Regions from separate parts of the Homo sapiens genome. Here region 1 is linked to region 2. The links are contacts of gene promoters, found by promoter capture Hi-C in human tissues and cell types (Jung and others, 2019). All regions are on one chromosome and are shown on one strand. The core of a region is centred on a gene start or on the middle of the fragment in contact, and the rest is flanking DNA. Distances in the headings are between cores, read along the strand shown.

What was found. Contacts are between HindIII fragments. The study calls those that stand out against the background at their distance.
Region 1: a fragment that was not itself captured here is called in contact with the fragment with the promoter of RNF141 in region 2 in 1 of the 25 tissues and cell types used here (hippocampus).

What each region holds. Positions count from the first base shown.
Region 1 is chr11:10,849,859-10,856,695 of GRCh38, forward strand. ZBED5 (zinc finger BED-type containing 5) reads right to left here. Exons shown (of 3, transcript NM_001143667.2): 2 at 6,286-6,399; 3 at 2,848-5,228. The coding sequence starts at 5,087. The coding sequence ends at 3,006. Among named protein-coding and RNA genes, the nearest start is that of ZBED5, 4.8 kb to the right of the region's middle. RefSeq lists a silencer at 11-211. The HindIII fragment of the contact is 3,978 bases long and covers 2,009-5,986 here.
Region 2 is chr11:10,537,997-10,545,195 of GRCh38, forward strand. RNF141 (ring finger protein 141) reads right to left here and starts at 3,191. Exons shown (of 6, transcript NM_016422.4): 1 at 3,126-3,191. It overlaps IRAG1-AS1 (IRAG1 antisense RNA 1), which reads left to right and starts at 3,240. Exons shown (of 4, transcript NR_046375.1): 1 at 3,240-3,546. RefSeq lists an enhancer at 3,267-3,376. The HindIII fragment of the contact is 8,088 bases long and covers 1-5,285 here.

The DNA.
Region 1 (6,837 bases), core at 2,748-5,247, 310 kb after region 2:
GGAACTCGACTTGTCTGTTGTCCACCAGACCCACCTTCACGTACTAAAAGTCCATTCTCACTAGCTGTGCATGGTATCCATAATTTAGTCCTGATACGTTACAGATGAGGTGAACAGCTGGCATCAAGAACCAAAATGGGTACGGTCAGCATTAAAAAGGTCTAGTAGCAGACAGCAGGGTCTCAGATAATGGACTTGGACTTAAGAGCAGGAATCTAGTCTCCAAGGAGGTTAGGGGAAAAGGACTGGAAAACAAGAATGGTTTTATATTTTAAGAGGCTGACATCTTGGACAAATAATCTAATGAAGGGCTCGAACTCAGCAATCGCAGGAGTCTAGTTACCAGGCTTGAGGTATATGCTGGACACAGATATTAAGGAACTGCACATCCTTCTCAAACTAGGGTATAATTCTGGGACTAGTAAATAAAAAGCATTGCATATATAAGAAATTATGATACATCTTCTAAGGAATTAGTAGTTGACAGCAATTTACTCTATATTTTACATGAAAATTAGTCATATTTTAAATTAGCCAATTTCGGTGAATTTAGAAGTAAACACAAGACTTCAAAGAAATGTCCAGATTCTAGTAGGCAGTTTCAGGCTGTACTTCCAAGTCACTGTTTGTCTTAGAAAAGTTCAGAAGGCAATGATGGGAAAAAGCTCTGTATTTGGGAAAGACTTACTTTAAACTAAATCCTGCTAATTACCTATGACCTAGGTCAAGTCCAAAAATGACTGAATCCCATAAGATTGTTGTAAAGATTATAGATAAATACAAAGCAACTATTAAAGTGCCTGACAGGCTGGGCGCAGTGGCTCACATCGGTAATCCCAGTGCTTTGGGAGGCCTAGGTGGGCGGATCACCTGAGGTCAGGAGTTCAAGGTCAGCCTGGCCAACATGGTGAAACCCCGTCTCTACTAAAAATACAAAAATTAGGCCAGCTGTGGTGGCTCATGCCTGCAATCTTAGCACTTTGAGAGGCCGAGGCGGGTGGATCACCTGAGATCAAGAGTTCGGGACCAGCCTGGCCAACATGCAGAAACCCCGTCTCTACTAAAAATACAAAAATTAGCTGGGTGTGGTGGCACGTGCCTGTAATTCCAGCTACTCGGGAGGATGAGGCAGGAGAATCGCTGGGGGATGGGGGGCGGGCGGGGGGTGGGGACTGAAGTTGCAGTGAGGTGAGATCACGCCACTTTACTCCAGCACAAACAAAATTAGCTGGGGGTGGTGGTGCACACTTGTAATCCCAGCTACTTCGGAGGCTGAGGCATGAGAATTGGTTGAACTTGGGAGGCAGAGGTTGCAGTGAGCCAAGATCGCGCCACTGTAATCCAGCCTGGGTGACAGAGCAAGACTCTGTCTCAAAAAATAAATAAATAAAATAAAGTTCCTCACAGACAAATAAGTGCTTAATAAGGCAACAAGGAGGAAAAACCTGGGCTAGAAGTATGTAATCTTGTTGCCTTGGATCAGGAAATGTCCCATGGTCTAGTAAACTGTTGAGTCTCCAGAGAATAAAAATCCAGATTAGAAGTGTGAAGTGTAGACTCAACTTTAACTGGAACATAGTTGGATATGGCAGAGAACTAATATATGCTGTACACCTACTCCTGATCATCAACTGTTAGGAGCTTTATATTTATACATTCACATTTAATCTTGATAACAACCCTTCAAAGGAGGCGTAATTGTAATTTTATAGATGAAACAACTGAGGTTCAAGTTCAGATTACCGTACATTACAAAGTAAAGTAGGTACTTGAACCTAGTCATTTTACCACATTCTGCCTTAATGGTGGGGGGTGGTACCTTTACTCCCTAAAATGGAAGTTTCAATAAATGAGATTAAATAATGGTTATCTACAGTAGTTCTTGACTACAGGAGTAACAAATATTTAACACTGAGTTGGTGAACTGTGTTGCATGACGTGATGTAGGAAAAGTAGCCCAGAGACAGGAAATTCAGTCAGGAAATTTTTACAGTATTATAAGAACAAACTGATTTCTGGTCTAAGCATCTCTGACTACAGTAAAGTCTCATTAATTTATACTGCATGTGGAATTTACAATAATCTATATAGGAACTGAGAAAAAAACAAAGTATCTGAAAATACTCTTCACACTTCATCCCCTCTCCCTCAATAGTTCAGCCTGAATCATAAAACTATGACATTCCTCGATGACCTCTGCATAATGGCCACACTGAACTCTAGTTAATAGAGTAAGTGAGCCAAAAAACCCAAAGGGTAGCAGTGTGTACACCTGCTACCATACCAATCAATGAATGTAGGAAATCCCCCATTCCATTTTTTGTTGGTTCACTTTCACCAACATGTTTTTCCTTTACTGAGCATCTAATTTAGTAAAGCCTTTTTCCAGATTATGGAGACACAGATTTGGATAAGACTCAATAAGACTCTCTAAGAGCTTAGTCTGAAAACATTGGGAACCGTGAGACCATCAAGGAGTTCACAGTTGAGACAGACACAAACATTAAATACAAGTGTGAAACAGCATCAAAATAGGAAGATACAGAGAATGAAAGTACCTACAAGTCAAAGTGTTGAAGCAAATAGGAGCCTACCAGAAAGTAAGATGGGGACAGAATCGCTTTTTGAGACCTGAAACGATAAAACAGTGTGATATGTTTAGGGAATGGCAAGAAGTTCCATGGGATTGGAGAGCTGCAGAGTAGACACGGAAAGATTGGTAGGGATTAGATCCTGAAGAGATATGTTAAGGGACTGGGACTTTATCTTGGGGATCATTATTTCCCAGTTATGATCATGGAACTCTTTAAAATTACAATGTAAAGAAATACCAATAATAACACAATATGTTTAAAACGTTTGATTCTTTAGCCTTCTTAAAATCTAAATAGTATAAAAAAATGGAATCATTTTATTTAAATCCCCCAAATACCAGAGATGAAGTAAATCATCTTTTATTTTCATCTTACATTTGGTTATCATGAGACATGCAAACTCCTCCAATTTTAATGAGAACAGTGTTTTTGTGTCTTTTTATCACATATCCGCTTAATATTAGGTGTAATATTGCTAAGTCGGATTCGCATATGAGGTGCAGCATCAAGTCTTTTCCTATATTTTGTTTTTGTTGCAGCGTAATATGAAAACCCCGTTTCACACAGGTGCATTGTAGCAAAAGGAAGAAGTACACGCACTGCACGCCTTGCAATGCTTGGGTATTCCTGAATTAGGCTACTCCAAAAATCATTTAGTGAAAGTTCACTAAAATTTTGCTTCACTTGAGAATCAGATGTTAAATCAATCAGGCTCTCATAGTCCCGTGCTACTAATGAAGCTGGTTTAACAGTAACTGTAAATGGATTTCTAACCCAAGCATTATTGTCATTTGTTACAGGAAAGTATTTTAACAGAGTAGCGCGCAAACCCCTTAGGTGCTGCACAATGGCACTGCAAATATCTTTATCAACTGTAGAATTAATTTCAGTCAAAAAATCACTGAGTGTAGGAAAACAATCAAAGTTTTCTTCTTCTACAGATGAGGCCCAAAATTCCAATTTTCTTAACAATGACGACATTTTATCAAATACTGTAAAAACGGTCACATTTTTTCCTTGCATTGACAAATTAACTTCATTTAATTTAGTAAAAATATCTGCAAGATATGCAAGTCTTAGCAGCCAAGATGAATTTGTTAAACAATCAGATAGTCGAAAAGCAGAATCCATGAAAACCAAAAGTTCACGACGAAGTTCAAAAAGTCTTACAAGAACTTTACCTCGAGAAAGCCACCTCACCTCTGTATTTAGAAGAAGTGCTGTGTGCTGAGCACCCATTTCCTCACATAAAATTTTTAATAGTCTGGATTGATGTGGTCGAGCTTTAATATAATTGATGATTTGTACTGCCTGGTCTAGCACATTTTTTAGAGATGTAGGCATTATTTTAACTGCCAGTGCATGTCTGTATAATAGGCAGTGACTACTGGTGCTTTCGGGAGCCACATATTTTATTAAGGTGACAGCTTCGGCAATTTTCCCATCCACTGCCCTAGAAGCATCACTACAAACATCAACACATTTTTCCCATTCAATTTCATGTTTCTGCATAAAACTGTTGATACAGTTGAATATTTCTTCACCGGTAGCATTACTTTGCAAAGATTCACACAGGAGTAGGTCTTCCTCAATAGACTTATTAAACCTATAACGAACAAACACAAGCAGCACAGCAAGTCCTGAAACATCAGCTGATTCATCTAGTTGCAGTGAAAACCCATCGCAAATTTTCAGTCTACAAACAAGCTCTTCTTCAATGTCAGCAGCTAGATCCTTAATTCGACGTGCAACAGTACTGTTTGATAGCTGTACTGCATCTATTTTTTTACTATATTGTTCATCAAACATCCGCATCACTACATCTTTTGCACAAGGTTTGATAAGCAATTCTCCAATAGTATGAGCCTCTCCACTCAGCGCTATATGGTAACTTACATTGTATGATGCTTCTGTAGCACTTTCATTATCTGTATTCACAATTTTAGGTGTTGGGGGTTTATTATTTTCAGGTGAATCGAGATGTTGCTTGAAAAAGCTTATGTCTTTGTCTTTATATGCAGCATGTTTAGTTTCCAAATGTCTTCGAAGCTTACTAGGGGCTAAAGAGCTATTTGATAAAATTTTCTTACATAATACACACTGAGCATGAGGTGCATCTCTATTTCCGAAGTAAGTAAATCCAAAAGACAAATAACTTTCATCATATTTTCTTCTTTTTGGTTTTTTACTAAATGTTATTTTGTTGGAATTGGATATAAATTTGACCCTGGAAAGCTCACCTTCTGATTTTTTAGAAACTGAAGGTTGCAACTGCTTATCTTCACTTTGTAATATTCCAACCTTCTGATCATTTGATTCAGACACAATCTGATAACAGAAAGATTCCACTTCTTGTTTAAGACTTCCTTGTTTCAGCAACAGATCCATGGGCAATGAGTTTGTGGTACAAAACATGGTTAATTTAGAATAGACATTGAGTATCGCAAATGTGTTGAAATTATAAGACAGGATACAAAGAAGAGGAGCAATCATCAAAGAGATGATATACAGCAACACATCAGTTAATTTGTAAATGCTGCCTATTCATCAATGCGCAGATGGAACATCATACGTTCATGTATCAGGTGATCTCTCATGCGACTTCCTGGTGCTCTCAGGTATGGTACACCTTTTCTTAAAGGTAGATTATCACATAAAAATAAAAGCTATAGAAATGAGTTTAGCAGTCTTAATCTCATATTTAAATAAACATATTAAAATCAACCATAAAGAAAAACCAATATTAGCATCAATCATTTTCTCAAAACATTTATTAACTTAGAGAATATTAATATTCTATAAAACATAATTTGGGAATCACTGAGCCAATAAATTATTAAGAGTTGTTATACATATTTTTAAGAAAGGGACCCTGAAGAATATGTCCCATGGCAGGGGTTGGCAGGCTTTTTTTGGTCAAGGGCCATATAGTCTCTGTTGCAACTACTCAACTCTGTAGTTGTAACATGACAGCAGCCATAGACAATACATGAAAGAATGGACACAGGTGTGTTCCAATAAAACTTTACGTACAAAACCAGACAGCATGGGCCATAATTTATCAGCCCTGTCTCATGGTATGTAGTATTGTGAAATCTCTTTTAGCTTTTGATGCCTACTGTCATTAGATGTATTAGTTGTTGATACTATTATATATCTGAAGTCCCTTCAGGGCTAGCAACAATTCTGAAGAAGTGAATTAAACACACACACAGTTCCAAGTTTTGCGAGATACATAATTCTACTGTATCCTAAATGTTATGCGTTAACAATGAAGAATAAATTGTATATCAAAAGTTAGGTACTGTTTCTCTGGACTTAAATTATATAAACGTTTATATTATCCAAATTAAGACTCAATGAAAGTAATGTATATTTTTACAGATAACTCTGCATTCTATTTATACAACAGGTGACGACTTAACCAGGACCTAAAAAAAAAAAATAAACTCTCATTTAAGAGGTTTATTTCTCATATAATAAAACAAATCAAAATTAAAAGGATAATGCAATCTAAGGATTGCTAAAGAATACTATTAACTCTATAAATCAAGGCATACAAATTATGTCTGTCCAAATATAGCTACTTTTGATTTAAACTTTATAACCTGGCTATAGAGTAAGTTTTGTATTCTCATGTTAGATCTTGAGTCAAAATGGTTCTCCTATTAAGGGGTAGAGGATAAGATACCTGAAATAAGGTGTTCTCCTTTCTGTAATCCCTCTCTCCACCTTGGCAGCTTGAAATGCACTCTTCAAAAGAATAAAATTAAGGGATGGGGTGGGAAGGGGAGTAACCAAAAGCCTAGAATGAGAAAAATTAAAATTAGATACAGTAACAAGCAGAACTAACTATAAACCCGTAAGATGGGTTTATTCTTTCTGGATCTAAGCAGTGAAAATGATTCTTTACTGCAATGCAGATCTTGGACTGAAAGAGAAGACGCCTAGCATAGTAAAAATTCTAACATTTTCATCCTGTTCAATATCTTGGCAATTTAGATGCTTTGAGATGTTCCCCCACCTACTGACTTCATAGAAACATGTTAAAACAACACCACCACCACACTTTCTAGAACTTGAAACTAAGCCTAATTTTTAAAAGTACAACCTCATCAATGTCTCTAAAACTAGGTCTTGAATCTAAAATGGAATTATACATAGAACTATTACATGAAGCAGTTCTTTCACTACAATCATTTTTAGCCCCCCAGTGACCAATCTCCTCAGGTAAACAATGTCT
Region 2 (7,199 bases), core at 1,941-4,440:
AATCCTTATGCCAAAGTGGCGTATTTTGCTACCCTACATTACCCACCAAAACCATATTTCAAAAGAAGAGTTAGTTGCTTATTTATTGAGTTATTAATAGAAAATGATCCCCTTTGTTTCAGCATTGTTTTCATCTGCTGCCCTAACTTTGAGTAAAGTTTATAATTTGAGGCAGCATATTAACTTGTTATCTTGTAACTGTACTTGGTATCTGGGAAACTTCATCACTAACTCCTTGCATTAAAATGCAACAGTATCTAGAGACTACCTGAGAGAGCCTGCAGAAGTGGTTTTCAACCTGGTTCCAGAAAGAGGGCTTGACATTTAGTTTATTTTGAAAACCATAAAATATTGATAAATATTAACATCTATCACTATATGGGTGTGAAAATAAGATATGACTCTGTGATCTGCATACAATATAAAACCACAACACAGAGTGCATGTTCACGAAAACAATCTGTTGAGGCCATCCTCTAGTCAACCACCACAGCTTTTCAGTGTCCCTCTTTGGTGACTGCACATATTTCTATCATACTATGACATTCGTTAAGTCACTTGGCCATTTCCCTCTAGTGAGCTTCTTGAGGACAGCAGCTATGGTCTGTCTTCTGGCAGATACACAAGCACTCAATAGATGTTTACTGAATAAATGCAGTAAATACCATTGGCAGTTTTTGTTTTATTATTATTCACTTAGTATTCTTTTGACTTTTGTTAATTTGGTCAGTCATCTATTAGTACTAGGTTGGAGAGAAGCAGAAGTTAAAAATATGTATGAAAGAAAATGTAAAACTGTGAAAATCTGTCATTAAATTAATGCTTATGTAAACTGGGAAACATTTACTATTTGATTTTAACAAGATACTCCCCCCTAGGCCATGCAACAGTGGTATTGCATAGAAACATAATTTGCAAACCACTGGCACAGAATTCAACAAAAGATGAATTTCTGGTCAAGATTTCTCAAAGAACTAGCAGCTCTCATATTATTGTGCCACCTATAACACAGTCATTTTTTGCAAGATAAAAATATGCTTTCAAAAAGCATTTGAAGGATTTTCTAAATAAAGAACTGTTATTTTGAAATGCACAAGATCAAGGATTCCAAAAATGCCACATTCTCTAGTGGGTGGTACATAGTGAATCACTTATTTTTCTAACAAATGAATTGTGGAAGTTCAAATATTCCTTATAAAAATATTAAAATTACATCATGGGTAACTGGCAAAGCAAAAACGAAAAAACTGCTCAAAAACTCCTAAAAATTTAAACCATAATTCATTCATAAAATAACTAAAGCAAAATGGAAAAGGCTGAAAATGCACCAAAATGACTAAATGACAAGTACTGCACTGTAGTATTTTAAAAACCTCTCTGAAACCAGTTCTCCATCAAATTTTGTATCAACCTCACCTAAAAGGATTTAATTGAAATAAACATCAATGATTTTCACTGTCAAGTCAACTTTAACATCAGTAATAAATACCAAGTACTACTGACTGGGTCCCTAAGGATATTATTTACTTTATTACTCATTGTTTACTCAAACTGTAGATCTGTAAACAGATATCAACTTTTTTTTTTCAAGACAAGTTAATATAGATACATAGTGAAATAATTAGGCCAGAGTCACTATAGAGTCCAGAATGCCTGTTCCAGAATCAAAGATCTTGATCAGAAAAAGATACATACATATATATTAGAGAGAGAAGGAGAGAGAAACTACAAAAGGATAGAGTGCCGTACTAGGAGATTAAGAATATGGATTTCTCACAGTAACAGTGTGTTTACTAAATGCATTTCATATTGGAAAAAGCATATTAGACTTGTAAGAATTCTCTCTGGACCTCCCTTGCCTTTTTGGGAAGGAAAGCGTGTTTGTATTTAGATGGGAACCAAGAAGGATCAGGCTACACACATCGAATATAAAGTTCATTTACACCAAATGACAAATATTAATTTTTGAAACATATAGTCATATTCTTGAGAAAAAGTTCTAGAAACTGAAGTCAGGCAATGTGAAAGAAAAGGATAAAAATCCATACTATTTTTGAGCTCTGAATTCAGAAAGCATCACTTCTCAGACGGGTGACTTCGACATGGAGGTGACTAATTTAGGATCGTCGGCCGGTGGCAGCTCATGCCCCCAGACAAAATTCTGAATGGGTAGAGGTCATTTTATAGCAAGAAGAATGGGCAGAAGGGAGTGAAAACGAATAAATTCGTGCTGAAGATGTAAGAATTATAAACAATTGAAAGTGTTCCAGCAGCTTTATATATATGCCAGAGGCAAGAACTGAATTAGCTGGCACCGCTAAATAGGACAGTGTCAGAATATAAAAGGTACACTACCTTTAATAAGGGGCATAGGGATCGATTTCAATAACAATCGTAAATCCACATTTTGTAACGCCGAGACAAATAACTGAAGGAATAATTTCAAAAGCTAACACAGAAGCCTTCTGCTCCTGCTGTGTAATCACTACCTTCTTATTATTAGCAAGAAAACGTTCTTTTCTTAGCCGGGTCTCAAGGTAGCAGCTAGTTTGACAAGGAAAGACCTTTGGGAAGGGTAGCAGCCTAAGCCAATTCATAAGTGTGGGGCTGGCTAAGTAGATCGACGTGGCTATTTCTGAGCTATCGTCCCAGGCAAAAGGTTTCTTATTTGGGTGTCCAGCCCGGCGGAGACCGAGCCCGCGGGCCACCCTAGCGCTCGCTCTGGCTACGCCGCCTCAGCCCCTCCTCAAGCGCACCTGGACATTTAACCAACAGCTAAGTCCGGCGGCCGAATGACTGAGCCGGCGGCAATATTCAAACAACCGTTTTGGGATAGAGAAGGAAAAACTCTCTCCGGGTCCCTCAGAACCACCCCGAGGCGGGACAAGCCACCGCCACCCCGGGCAACTGGAACCCGCCGGGCAGAAGACGGGCGTCAATAGAATGGCCTCCCCAGCCGTCCCCACGCCCCAATCCGAGGCCCGGGGAGGGCGGCGGGGCTAGGCCTGTCTCCCCGCGGAAGCCTGGCTCGGCAGCGGAGGGCCCTCTGGGGTTTCTCTTCCCAGACCCAGAGTCCTGGAGCAGCTAGCAAGGGAAACACGAAAGGACAGCGCCGCGGAGCTCACCCCAGGTTCAAGGCATCGCGCACCCTGCGGCAGCGGCTGCGCTGCCTCAGCCCACAGCTCAGACCTGCGGGTGGCCGCGACTCAGGCCGGGACCCGGTCGCACCTCTGTGACGCAAAGCCCCGCCCCCCGCGCGTTGCCGGGAGACGGCGCCCAACCTTCCTCTGCAGCGCCCCTACCGACCCGCGCTCCGCAGCTCCTGAGGGCTTTCGAGCCCAGATGGTCATCTGAGACGAGAGGTGGCGGCGAAGGAGAGTCTCGCCTGTCACGCTCCCGGAGCAGGGGCTTCATGAGGTGGCCATGGAAACAGCCTGGCAGACTCCCATCTCTCCTGGTGCCATCTCCGGAGCGGAAAGTGGAGCGCCCCGCTGGCGACCAAGGCCGCACTGAGAGCCCTGGTTTGGTCAACAGTTGGGCTCCAAGGTACCACTTCCCAGACCTCCAGCCTCCCCACTGATGATAGATACACAAAGGTCATCTTGTTTCTTTATGAGGCAATGGATTGTGTTCACCTAGCCGAGTTGTTAAGCATAAGAGAATGTATGAAAAGTAATTACAAGGTTCAAAATCCTGAGCTTTGATAAATGATAGATATGATGATGAGCACATGTTAGTGATATTACTGCTCTGCGGGACGTCTGAATCAGTAATTGCTGTCTTTTAAGCATCTGTTGTGTGCCAAATACTGCACTAGGCACTTTACGGGCATTGCTCTTGTTTAAGTCGTCTGGTCAAAGTTGCCTAGACAATAAACAGCAGAGCAAGGATTTTAACCCAGGTACAGCTGACACTGCTGCCTCTATGCTTAGCAGTTAAACTGGTTTTTATGTTTCTTGTTTGTACACCCCTCCTTCACCAGTCACTTGTAGATTCACCTTGTGAAGAGCTAATTCTTCCCTCTAATAATAATACTCTTTGACCATTTACTATATGTCAAACCGTATTTTAAGGACTTTAAAGGTATTAATTCGTTTAATCTTCACAGCAATCCTGTGAGTAGGTATTATTAATACCTTCACTAAGACACAGGCTTAGAAAAGTCGATTAACTTTTCCAAGGTCAAACAACCATTAAGGAGCAGAGCCAGATTCAAACCCAAGCAGACAGAACCCTGAACCTGTGTTTTTAATTCCTGTTTTAAACTGCCTCGGTAGTACGGTAAGACTTCATTAGCGCTAGGTCCATGCCTGTTTGTGCACCATTATTTCCCTGACAGCCAGCATGGTACTTGTTCAATATTTGAACATTTGATGAATATTTGAACACTGGAAAAGGAAAAAGCTTAAAAATGAAGTATAAATAATGATTTAATAAATTCCAAAAGATATCAAATTCAACAAGATTCCATAGTTCAGCCTAATCCGGGCCTGGGAGTTAGAAATATTACTCTGTAAAAATTGCCTTCAATTAAACATTGTATTGGAAGTTCTGGTCAATGAAATAAAAAAAGACAAATATATAAAAGGCATCCAAGTTGGAAAGGAAGTTGTAGCACTGCATTTATTTGCATAAGAAAATTGTGGAATACTACAAAAAAGCTGCTAGAACTCATAAGTGAGTTTACAAAAGTTGCAAGATACAAAATCAAATATACAAAAATCAGTTGTATTTCTATATACTAGCAATGAACAATTAGAAATGGAAAATTTTTAAATATCTCTTATCAGCAAAAAAAAAAAAAAAAAAAAAAGCAGCAAATTTGGGACAAATTTGACCAAAGATGAGAAAGACATGTATACTGAAAACTATAAAATATTATGGAATAGCAAAGACATGGAATCAACCCAGGTGCTTATCAATAGTGGATTGGATAAAGAAAGTGTGGTACATATACGCCATGGAATACTATACAACCACAAAAAGGACTAGATCATATCTTTTGCAGCAACATGAATACAGCTGGAGGCCATTGTCCTAAGCAAAATAATGCAGAAACAGGAAACCAAATACCGCATGTTCTCACTTATAAGTAGGAGCTAAACGTTGAGTACACAGACACAAAGTTGGGAACAATAAACACTGGGGATTCCAAAAGGGTAGAAAAAACTACTATTGGGTACTATGTTCACCACTTGGGTGACCTGGATCATTAGAAGCCTAAACCTCAGCATTGTTCGATATACCCATGTAACAAAACTACACGTGTACCCCCTGAATCTAAAATAAAATAAAAAACATTGTTAAGAGAAATTAAAGAAGACCTAAATAAATAGAGATACATTATGTTCATGAATCAGAAGACTGAGCATTTTTAAGATATCACTTCTGCCTAAATTGACCTACAGATTTAAGGAAATTCCAATAAAAATTCTAGCAGATTTCTTTTTGATGGAAATGACCAAACTAATTCTAAAATTTATATGGAGATGCAAAGGACCTAGGATAGTCAAGACTTTCATCAAAAAAAACAAAGTTTTGGGACTTACACTACCTGATCTCAAGACATTATAATAAGAGCTACTCAACACAGTATAGTATAGGTATGAAAATAGATAGAGTAATGGAACAGTATATAGAACCCAGAGATGTATCTATACATATGTCATCAATTGATTTTCGACAAATATGCCAAGGCAATTCAGTGGGGGAAAAGATAATCTTTTCAACAAATAAACCTGAAAAAATTGAATAGCATATGCCAAAAAACTCTTAATATCTTGCTCCTTTCCTCATACTGTCACAGGATCCTTGGAGTGTTGCTCTGCCAGCCAGAAACCTCTGTGGCCGGTGGCTCCTTTGCCCGAGTTTTGCTCAGGCCCACTGGGCTCATTCTGCCCATTTGGCCTTGCAGGCTGCACTCGGCTCATGCCACTGGCCCAGATCCCATGCCTGCCAAGGACGAGCCAGGCGCAAAGTGGTGAGGGGTGCGTGAGCAAGTGAGCGCGAGGTCTGGCCGCTGTGCACAGCTAGGCACGCCAGCTGTGGCGGGGCGGGTGGCTCCAGGTGCTGGCATGGGCGCTGGCTCCTGCAAAGCTGTGGCTGGACCAGGAGTACCACAAGCGGCTTCCACTGCTGGCACTAGGGAATGTGGTGGCACCTGGAAGCTTTGAGATGCCAGGAAATGCAGAGCCCCCAAGAGGGTGTTACAGTCCTGGCTCAGGGAGCTCTTAGGTCTGGGCTTCTCGAAGTGTCAAAGCTCTTCTCTCCTTCTCTCTTCTGTCCTTCTCATCGCTTGCAACATGGGGAGTGAGGGGGTGTTTCAGCCCTGTTTGTGTTACAGTTCTTTCAGTCCTGCCATTTGGCAGGTCCCAAGTTGTTGTCCCACATCCAGGAATAATGAGGTATGCAGACAATTGGAGGGTGAGTAGGGTGAAGAGGTGCTTTATTGAGTGACAGTATAGCTCTCAGGAGACTCTAAGTGGGTAGCTCCTTTCTGCAGGCAGGTTGTCCGGTTGTCTGCCCAGCTCTCAGCTGAGAGGAGACCCACAGTGGGTGGCTCCTTTCTGCAGGCAGGTCGTCAGGATGTCTGCTGAGCCCTCAGCAGAGAGGAGATCTGGAGTGGGTAGCTCCTACACGCAGGCAGGTTGTCCCCATGTTTCTTGAGTCTGGCTGAGCCTAGGATATTTATGGGCTCAAGAGGGAGGAAGTGCATGCTGATTGGTCCATGGGCAGTAGAAAAAGTGCCATAAGTTCTCACTCCAGTCTGAGGACCTGGCAGCCCAGCCCCCAGGCTTCAGACTCTCAGTTGCCTAAAGGTAGGGTTTCACTGAGGACCCACCCCTTTTTGCCCAGGAGCCAGTCTGCCTCATGCCACTGTCCATGGCACCAAGGCTGTTTGTGCCAGCGGGAGCCTGCAGGCCCACACTGAGCTGCCCTCAGCGCCCCCTCAGCTTCCCCTCCCATGCTCATCAGTGTCCAAAGTCCAGAGGGGGCTGAGGTGGCAGGGGGCTGGCATGTCAGTGTTGCCCCAAGCATGCACACACCTGCCAGATTGTGACAGCGTCTGGGCTTGGCCACAACTTTGCTCTGCCCCAGAAGCAGGGAGAGGCCAGACAGCAGGAGCAGGCACTTTCAAGCCTGTGGGGGCAAGGGGCTTCCTGGGCCCCTGAGAGCACAAGGATGCCCAGGTCCACAGC